3 separate regions of the Homo sapiens genome follow, and all the other regions are linked to region 3. The links are contacts of gene promoters, found by promoter capture Hi-C in blood cells and fetal thymus (Javierre and others, 2016). All regions are on one chromosome and are shown on one strand. The core of a region is centred on a gene start or on the middle of the fragment in contact, and the rest is flanking DNA. Distances in the headings are between cores, read along the strand shown. Region 1 overlaps ERCC4 (ERCC excision repair 4, endonuclease catalytic subunit). Region 2 holds the start of GTF3C1 (general transcription factor IIIC subunit 1). Region 3 holds the start of COQ7 (coenzyme Q7, hydroxylase).

What was found. The method cuts DNA at HindIII sites, captures the fragments that hold promoters and counts their contacts. A CHiCAGO score of 5 or more calls a contact.
Region 1: a fragment that was not itself captured here is called in contact with the fragment with the promoter of COQ7 in region 3 in 1 of 17 cell types (total CD4 T cells); the score reaches 6.4 in total CD4 T cells.
Region 2: the fragment with the promoter of GTF3C1 here is called in contact with the fragment with the promoter of COQ7 in region 3 in 1 of 17 cell types (fetal thymus); the score reaches 8.2 in fetal thymus.

What each region holds. Positions count from the first base shown.
Region 1 is chr16:13,923,817-13,926,516 of GRCh38, reverse strand. All of the region lies in intron 2 of ERCC4 (ERCC excision repair 4, endonuclease catalytic subunit), which reads right to left. All of the region lies in intron 1 of LOC105371093 (a long non-coding RNA gene), which reads left to right. Among named protein-coding and RNA genes, the nearest start is that of ERCC4, 5.0 kb to the right of the region's middle. The HindIII fragment of the contact is 2,829 bases long and covers 1-2,688 here.
Region 2 is chr16:27,548,527-27,551,407 of GRCh38, reverse strand. It overlaps GTF3C1 (general transcription factor IIIC subunit 1), which reads left to right and starts at 1,495. Exons shown (of 37, transcript NM_001520.4): 1 at 1,495-1,738. The coding sequence starts at 1,518. KATNIP (katanin interacting protein) reads right to left here and starts at 1,264. Exons shown (of 28, transcript NM_015202.5): 1 at 1,231-1,264. The coding sequence starts at 1,237. RefSeq lists enhancers at 1,399-1,508, 1,519-1,598. The HindIII fragment of the contact is 1,688 bases long and covers 882-2,569 here.
Region 3 is chr16:19,066,174-19,069,072 of GRCh38, reverse strand. COQ7 (coenzyme Q7, hydroxylase) reads right to left here and starts at 1,459. Exons shown (of 6, transcript NM_016138.5): 1 at 1,336-1,459. The coding sequence starts at 1,408. COQ7-DT (COQ7 divergent transcript) reads left to right here and starts at 1,382. Exons shown (of 3, transcript NR_119381.1): 1 at 1,382-1,492. RefSeq lists an enhancer at 1,096-1,245 and a silencer at 1,276-1,435. The HindIII fragment of the contact is 11,366 bases long and covers 1-2,899 here.

The DNA.
Region 1 (2,700 bases), core at 25-2,524, 5.1 Mb after region 3:
TTGCCATTCATTCATCACATTTTTCTTAAGTACTTACAAGAGAATGAATAAGCACCATTCTAGACTGGGCATATAGCCACGCACAGAACAGAGATAAATCCCTGTCCTCAAGGAATTGACTATAAACAATATAAATACGTAAAATATTTAGGATGCTACAAGTGCTGAGAAGAAAAAATGAATCAGAGAAGGAGGAGAGGGAGTATGTATGAGGGGTGGTCTCACCAAGGTGGTATCTGAATAAAGGCTGGATGGAGCCTTGTGACCATCTGGGCCAAGAGAGTTCCAGGCTGCCAGGCTGAGGGGACAGTGAGGGCACAGGCCCTGGGGTGGGGTGTTTCTGGCATGTCAGAGGAAGAATTTCTGAAAGCAAAGTAGGTCATGAATTTTTTTTTTTTAATGTATGAATCAGATGTGGACTATACAAAATAGCCACATTTTAGAAGTCTGGGCAACATCTACATTACCTATGAGATGAATTCAATTTTCAGAATCAGAAGATAGTCAATTCAGAGGTAAATTAGTCCATTTAAAACAAAAACCTTCAATCGACATACTTATACATGTCTTTGGGGGTGTACATGATTATAACACCTCAGCATCTCAAAAATAAGAACAATTATACATGCTTTGTTATTTATGAAATGAGACTACTGACCCAGATCTTTCATATATATTGTGTCATCTGATGCAGTGTGATTAGTGCTAAGTTAGGGAGAAACATGAGATGACATAAAGGCATACAGACATGCTTTCTAGATCAAAACCACAATTACTCCAAGACGAGTCTGTCTTTTAGACCTAAATCAAGCTGGTTACCTTATATATATTTGGCATAATGGTACTTGCATGCTTTTGATCCAGTTCTCATATCTGGAAGGGTATGGACAATAATACTAACAGTGATTTATGACCCTTCTAATAGTTCAATAAACTAAACTCAGATTTTACTATTTTAATGTTTAAGTTTTGGATAGAGGTGGATGGAGCTAAATTTACTCTAGCTCAGCAAATTATCTTCCAAATATAGTAAAAATTAATAATGTTATTTAGGAATTCATAGACAAAGGATTTTCAATAACCCCCCCAATACACGTACATAACTAATTTACTACTCAGAAAATATTCTGTACCTAATTGGTGGGTTTTCCCAAGGACTCTAAGAGGCCACATTTTGTTAGCCTGGATTGAAATATTACGTAGAGTCAAGAATAATAAAAATGAACTTCCAAAGAAAAGGAGAAACTCAATTTAAGAAAATGTTGCGCTCCAAAAAGTTGTCTTTATTTTGGTTGGAACCCAGGAGGAAGAAGAGAACTGATACTACATCCCAGGTAACTGGGTTAGGTGTTTCTATAGATTTTCATTTCATTTAATTGTTATGATAATTCCATGCAGTAGGTATCATGATGAGACCAAGGAAGGGAAGCAACTTAACCAAGGTCATCCAGCAAGCAAGTGGGAGGCCGAAGGTTCCAAATCATGTGTAAAATCATGTTATTCCTATTTAGTCACACCAACTCAAGACACTCCTTTTTCAAAAAATAAAAATAATAGAAGCAGGTTAGGTTTTTGGGAGGAGTTTTAGCTCCACAAAAGCCTACTTTAGTTTTTTTTGTTCCTATGACATTTTGTACCCATACTGTACTATAACTACTTCTTTACTTGTCTCCTCCATTAAACTGCCCGAGAACAGGAACATCGTAACACCAACAGGCAGAGATCACAGAGATCATAGAATGCTGACTATGTGCCATGCTACCAAGTATTTTACATATAAGCATTTCATTTCACCCTGACAATCCTAGGAGGAAGGTACTATCTTTATCACCAATGTACGGGTGAGTAAGCTGAGGCATAGAGAAATTAAGAAACTTGCCTAAAAATACACAGCTGGTGCAAGATGAAGATAACTCAAACCCAGAAGCAGTCTAACTCACGAGTTCACCATACTGTCCCATTCATCTGTCTATCTTCAGCACCCTTCCTGCCAAACAAGGGACCCTTAGTGAGTTAAATATTTGTTGAATGAATATAAAGTGGAGGCACAGCACTGGGTACACAAATCAAAAGTGTAACTGAAAAATACATATATATTTCCCAGAAAGTGTGTTCTTAGTTCTGTCTGGAGATGTCAGGGTCAGTTTTGGCAATGAAAGCATCCTCCTGTCCTGTTCTTTTCAAGGTACAACCTCACCAGATATTTATATAGTTCTCCCACGTGTTAGGAGTTCTGGTTAGCAGGGATTCCCAGGGTGGGGTGTGGTGGTAATAATGGGTGGTGACAGGTGAAGAAGTTGGGGCTGGGGGATTCAGCCTTTCCAGAGGGTTACCTGCACTTCACGCACTGCTCTTTGGTCAGTCCTGGGGGATGATCCCAGGGGATGAAAGAATTCAAAAGAATTCATTTTTGGCATTCATTTACATTCCACTCAGCCAAGCATCAGTAACAGCTCCAGCTTCATTATTCGGTGGGCTTTGATCAGAAAGGAGGAGGGAATTTGGCATTTTTCATTAGGAGCTACAGATAAGCCAGACTTCAACGTTGCATAAATTCACATTGCTCTCTGCCTAATTAGGTTGCACTGTAACTGAAAGTCACAGGATATTACTGACACCTAGTGGTAGTTTTAAACACAACAAAAAAATTTTTTTAAATCAATTTAAAAAATAAAGTAAAACCAAGCTTATAAGAAAGCA
Region 2 (2,881 bases), core at 246-2,745, 8.5 Mb before region 3:
ATGGTAAAGCACATTTTATAGTACCTCTAAAGTACAAAGGGAAAAGATATATTTTAAGCATATGACAGAATGTTCAATTAAAAACATTTTCTCCACACTACATTCAGTGAATATAAAAAGAATGTGGATTCCCCAGGAACAAATTCCCGAGAAGTGAGGGACAGTGCTGTAATTAGAAAAATGATCTGGACTCTAGCCCAGACCCTACCAGTCTCTCTAGACTTTAGTCTTCCCATCTGCAAAGTGAGATATCAGAATAGCCTATTTTCCATTTGCTTCCAATTGTCAATACCATGACTCTAATCAGGGATCCCTAAATGGGGGCCCACAAGCTGTCTCTGGCCTTCAGAGTGACTGGCCAACCCTGTTTTTGAGAAGTACCCCAAGAGGACAATCAGCTGGTGCTTGGTGAGCAGCTTTCCTTTCAGGTGAGGAATTGATTTTCAGTTACAGCCTCAATCCGGCTCACTAGACTCTCCTCTGCAGACATCTGCATTTACAACCTCTGGAATAAAGGGACCCTCAAAACCGGTCCAAATCTCAAGCTCCATAATTCAGCTCCAGAGACAGGGTGTCTGGGTTTCTCACTCACTCTGCTACATGCTGGTTGTTTGACTTTGGGCAAGTTCCTTAACACCTCTGAGCCTCAGTTTCATCATCTGTAAAATGGAACAACGCTGAACTCAAAAGGCTGGTATGAAGCTTAGCGAGGTGTTGCCCAAGAGTACTTACAGAGTTCTTGGTACTGGAAAGCACTTTGTTAAAGGGAGCTATTATTATTAACGCCAAGGCACAGAAAGGGAGTATTTCCTAAACTCCCTTCACCCCCCACACCAATTCCCTTTCCCAGCACCTGACGATTGCACTCCCACGATCAAGCTTGTTTTCATATCAACTCCCAAATCCGACAGTTCCACATCCCAACATTCACAAGACCCTCCTCAGACCTCTACTTCTCCTTCCCCACCCTACATCCCTTCACTGAGCTCCCGGCCAGTACCGGTTTCCTTCACGACCACAGCCGAGCAGAATGGTCACAGCACTGACCACTCCCCCAGGCTCTCCTCCGCGTTCCAGACCACTAAGCCTCCCTATCCCTCATTTCGGAGACCCCCTTGGGTCAGGAAGTGGTGGTCCAGGGGTTCATGGCCTAGGATTCTGCCCAAAGCGCGGTCGGGAGGGATGGGAGAATAACAGCCCGACCTCCCGGAGGGGCCCACAGACACTCACCGTCCATCCCTAGAGGCGGCGGTTCCGGGAGCTCGAACCGGAAGCGGCCTCTACACTGTTTGCAGTTCCCCTGGTTACTGCGGGGCCCCGGACCAATGACGGTGGAGCTCCACTTACTGAGCCCGCCCCCGGGGAGTGACGTCATGCCGGCGCGCTGGAACTCCTCCTCCGAACCCTGGGTCTGACCCACCTCCCCGGGCCCCGGATCGTTGTGCGCAGGCGCGATGGACCAAGGCCCTTGGCGGTGCGTTGCGCATGCGCCCCGGGCGCCGCCGACTGAAGTAGCAATGGACGCGCTGGAGTCGTTGTTGGACGAAGTCGCTCTGGAGGGGCTCGATGGCCTGTGTCTGCCAGCGCTGTGGAGCCGGCTGGAGACGCGAGTGCCGCCCTTCCCGCTGCCTTTGGAACCCTGCACGCAGGAGTTTCTCTGGCGGGCCCTCGCCACGCACCCGGGCATCAGCTTCTATGAGGAGCCTCGGGAGCGACCCGACCTACAGCTCCAGGACCGGTCAGCGGGCGGCCTGGCCTGGCGGGCGGGCGGGCGGGCGCAGGGCCCGGGGGCTGATGGAGCTGGGGGCAGGGCGGGGGAATGGAGTGGGGCTGTGCAAGTACCGGAGGCCTGTTGATTGAGTTGGGGCACGGCGGTAAGGCTAATCTGGGGTCCCTCAGGCCTGGCAGGGCCCTGGAGTCCGATGGAGTTGGCGGGGGGAGGGGGAGAATCTAGTGATGTCCCGTTTTGTCCCTGTGTGTGTTTTGGGGTAATGGCGAACAGGATTGGGGATATTCTTCAGGCTTAAAAGAATGTTTCCTTTACATTGGAGGATAGGATTAGAGCAGGAAAGACACTTTAGAGCCAGACTGGAGACTCCTGAGATCAACAGACCCTCATGGTATATTCATTCGGTGCAGATAGCCTAGGGCAACTCGAGATCTGCGTATCAGGACAATTAGCGATAATGCTAAAAGCTGACATTTATCAGGGACTTCATGGGTGAGGTGCTGTTCTTTTTTTTCTTTTTTGAGATAGAGTCTCTCTCTGTGGCCCAGGCTGGAGTGCAGTGGCGCGATCTTGGCTCACTGCAACCTCCGTCCGCCTCCCAGGTTCAAGCGATTCTCGTGCCTCAGCCTCCTGAGTAACTGGGATTACAGGCATGTTCCACCACGCCCGGCTAATTTTTGCATTTTTAGTAGGTATGGGGTGTCATCATGTTGGCCAGGCTGGTCGCGAACTCCTGACCTCAGACAATCCGCACCTCTCGGCCTCCCAAAGTGCTGTGATTACAGGCGTGAGCCACGGCGCCCGGCCACATTGCTGTTCTAAGAATCTATTCTAGAAGCTTTAGGAGCTTAAACTCACTTGATCCTCACTTGATTAAACTCCGTTAAACAGGAGATTAAATTCACTTGATCCTCACCTATGAGGTAGGTGCTGTTATCGTCCTCATTTTACAGAGGAAGACACTGAGTCACAGAGAGGGATTATGTAACCTAAGGTTCTGGGGGCAATAAGTGACTAAGAATTGATTTGAACCCAGGCTATTTTCAGCGTCTGTGCTCTTAAGCCATATTGTGAGGGTCAGGGGAGGTTCCAAGAGGTAATAATGTCCAAGACAGGCCGGGTGCAGCAGCTCATGCCTGCAATCCCAGTACT
Region 3 (2,899 bases), core at 210-2,709:
ACCCCATGTAGTAAGGGGTACTCTTTCAAAATCTCTTGCAATCTCTTTCATTAAGGAAGATAACTCCATTTACAGCTGGTATAGCCTTAACACTTTCCCAACACTTGCTAATTTCCCCTTTGTAACAGAAAGACAGTATTTAATACAATTTCATAACTTTTTAATTTGTTTGTTTTTTTTTAATGATTACTCACCCATTTGTGGCAAGTGGCACTGGCTTCCCATTCACCATAAGGATTTTGTTTCAAGGAAATTAATTTAATTTTTAAATGGGACATAGCTATACAAAAAAACACATCTAGTAATCAAAAGTTCAAGCAGTACTGCCATTAGGCAAAAATCCCGAAAGTGGTACACGGTAATTTAACGTTGAGAAAACGACTTCATGAAATTTCTTTTTTTTTTTTTTTTTTGCGCGGGGGAGACAAAGTCTCGCTCTGACGCCCAGGTTGCAGTGCAGTGGTGCAATCTCGCCTCAAAGCAATCTCTGCCTCCCGGGTTCAAGCGATTCTCCTGTCTCAGCCTCCTGAGTAGCTGGGATTACAGGCACCTGCCATCACGCCTGGCAAATTTTTGTATTTTTAGTAGAGGCGGGGTTTCACCATGTTGGCCAGGCTGGTCTCAAACTCCTGACCTCAGGGGATCCTCCAGCCTCGGCCTCCCAAAGTGCTGAGATTATAGGCCGGAGCCACCGCGCCCGGGCTCATGACAATTTTCTAAGGCAGCACAGATGAAACAAGGAAAGCAGGAACCAGGGTCCAAAACCATGTCTCTCTACTCTAAATTCGATGCTCCTTCCACTACACTGATGGCTTTCACAGTTTACAGTGCATGCAAATCACCTAAAGGTCCTGTTCACAGATCACAGATACCGACCAAGTAGGTCGGGGTGGGGCCCGAGAATCTGTATTTCTAGCGAGCGCCCAGAAGTAGCGGAGGCTGCTGGTCGTCGGGCTACCCTTTGCCTGGCAAGGCCCTGGGCAAAGACTACAAAGAGAGAGACTCCCGGAGACGCTGAATTTTCAGTGTCGCCAACTGTCCTCGACTCGGAACGCTGGCCGCACCTGCCGTGACATCACTGCACAGGGGTGCAATTGCGTCACTCCCCAGGCGTCACTGCCGAAACAACCCCTGTCCTCCTGTCACTCTCGCCGCTAACTACAGACCCCGCCCCGCCCGCCAGCGCCCCGGAGGCCGAAGTCACGCAGTCGCGCTCCGTCGCAGGCCTGTGACGTTACGAACCTCTCCCCCGTGACCTCTTCGACCCAAACCTCAAGCGAAAATTCCCTAGCTCGCTAGACCGGCGCAGGACTGTGACTGCGCGCCTCCTTTTACCTGAGAGGGACCGCCGGGCCCCCGGGCGCAGCCGCCAAAGGCGGGGAGCCGCCGCCGCCCCGGCGCAACTCATTGCCGGAACTAAAAAAAGCAACCACTTCGTTGAACGGAACTGGCCAATAGTGCCCTTGGCTCGGACTGATGACGCACAGCAGACGTAAGGAAGGCTCAGCTCGCCCGCGCACCGGTGGGAACGCCCCCTAGCTCTGCGCTAGGGGTTAGATTGGTTAGATACGACAAATAAAAAGATTTTATTGGGTGGGGTCACTGTCAATCACTCGGAAGACCAAGGCCAAGGCGCCTTGGGTTGCCAGGGAGATGAAAATGCTAAATTGCTGTTTAGAAAGATCAGGACAAGGTTATGATTTCTCACCCAAGTTCCTGGGGAAAAGGATCATGAGGGAATTACTTATTAACAAGGCACGGTATTTCCTGCTTTACCTACGTGGAAGGAGATTTTTTTTTTTATTTGTATCCTACATCTACTTTAAAATAGTAAGCCTGGGCAACATAGCGAGACCCCGCCTCTACAAATAATTTTAAAAATTAGCCGGGTCTGGTGGAGCACACCTGTAGTCCCAGCTACTCGGGAGGCTGAGGTGGGGGGATAGCTTGAGCCCGGTAGCTCGAGGCTGCAGTCAGCCGTGATTCTGCCACTGCACTCTAGCCTGGGCCCTGTCTGAAAAATAAATAAATAAATAAAATTATATGTATATCTAAATTACATGCACCACATGGTTAATGGTGTTATATAGTGTTATCTCTATTGGTGGGCTGAAAGCCAACTTTAAACTTCTTCCCGGTCTTTTCTCTATTTTCAGAAACAGAGAACATGTTTTATCCTTGGTATCCACCTTAATGTACTGTGTGCATGTATGCATGTATATTTGTGCAAATTGGAATTTTTTGAGAAGGGAGGGGAAATTTAGCAACATACTTTAAAAAGATCATATAATACAGCAGTCTTACTTTTAGGAATCTACTCAACGAAATAATTTTTAAATGAGTAATGTACATGAGGGCAAAAATCAAAGATGCGTGTCTGCAAGGATATACAACGTTTAATATTGGCAACATCAGGGGGCTGGAACTGGGAGAAGGGAGCTTTCACTTTCTACTTTACACCCTTGGATTATTTATATACTTTATCCAAGTTTACCATAAAATATTTTAAGATGGAATACAATTGTAAAATTATTGAATTCAAGTTTTTAGTTTTTATATCACTCTAGTGTTCAAATTGACACACCAAAATAATTTAAAATTATGATGAACCCAAATACTACTTAGTGAGGATGTTGTAGCACTCTCATGTAAAACTACTGAGTGTCTGAATCTGGCGCTCAAAAGCCTTAAAATGTTCAAAACCTTTGCTGTAATACCACTTCTAGGTCTCTGTTTCCTTTTTGTTTTGTTTTTTGTTTTTGTTCTTTTTAAATGGAGTTTCACTCTGTCGCACAGGCTGGATTGCAGTGGGGAGACCTTGGCTCACTGGAACCTCTGCCTCCCGGGTTCAAGCGATTCTCCTGCCTCAGCCTCCCAAGTAGATGGGATTACAGGTACA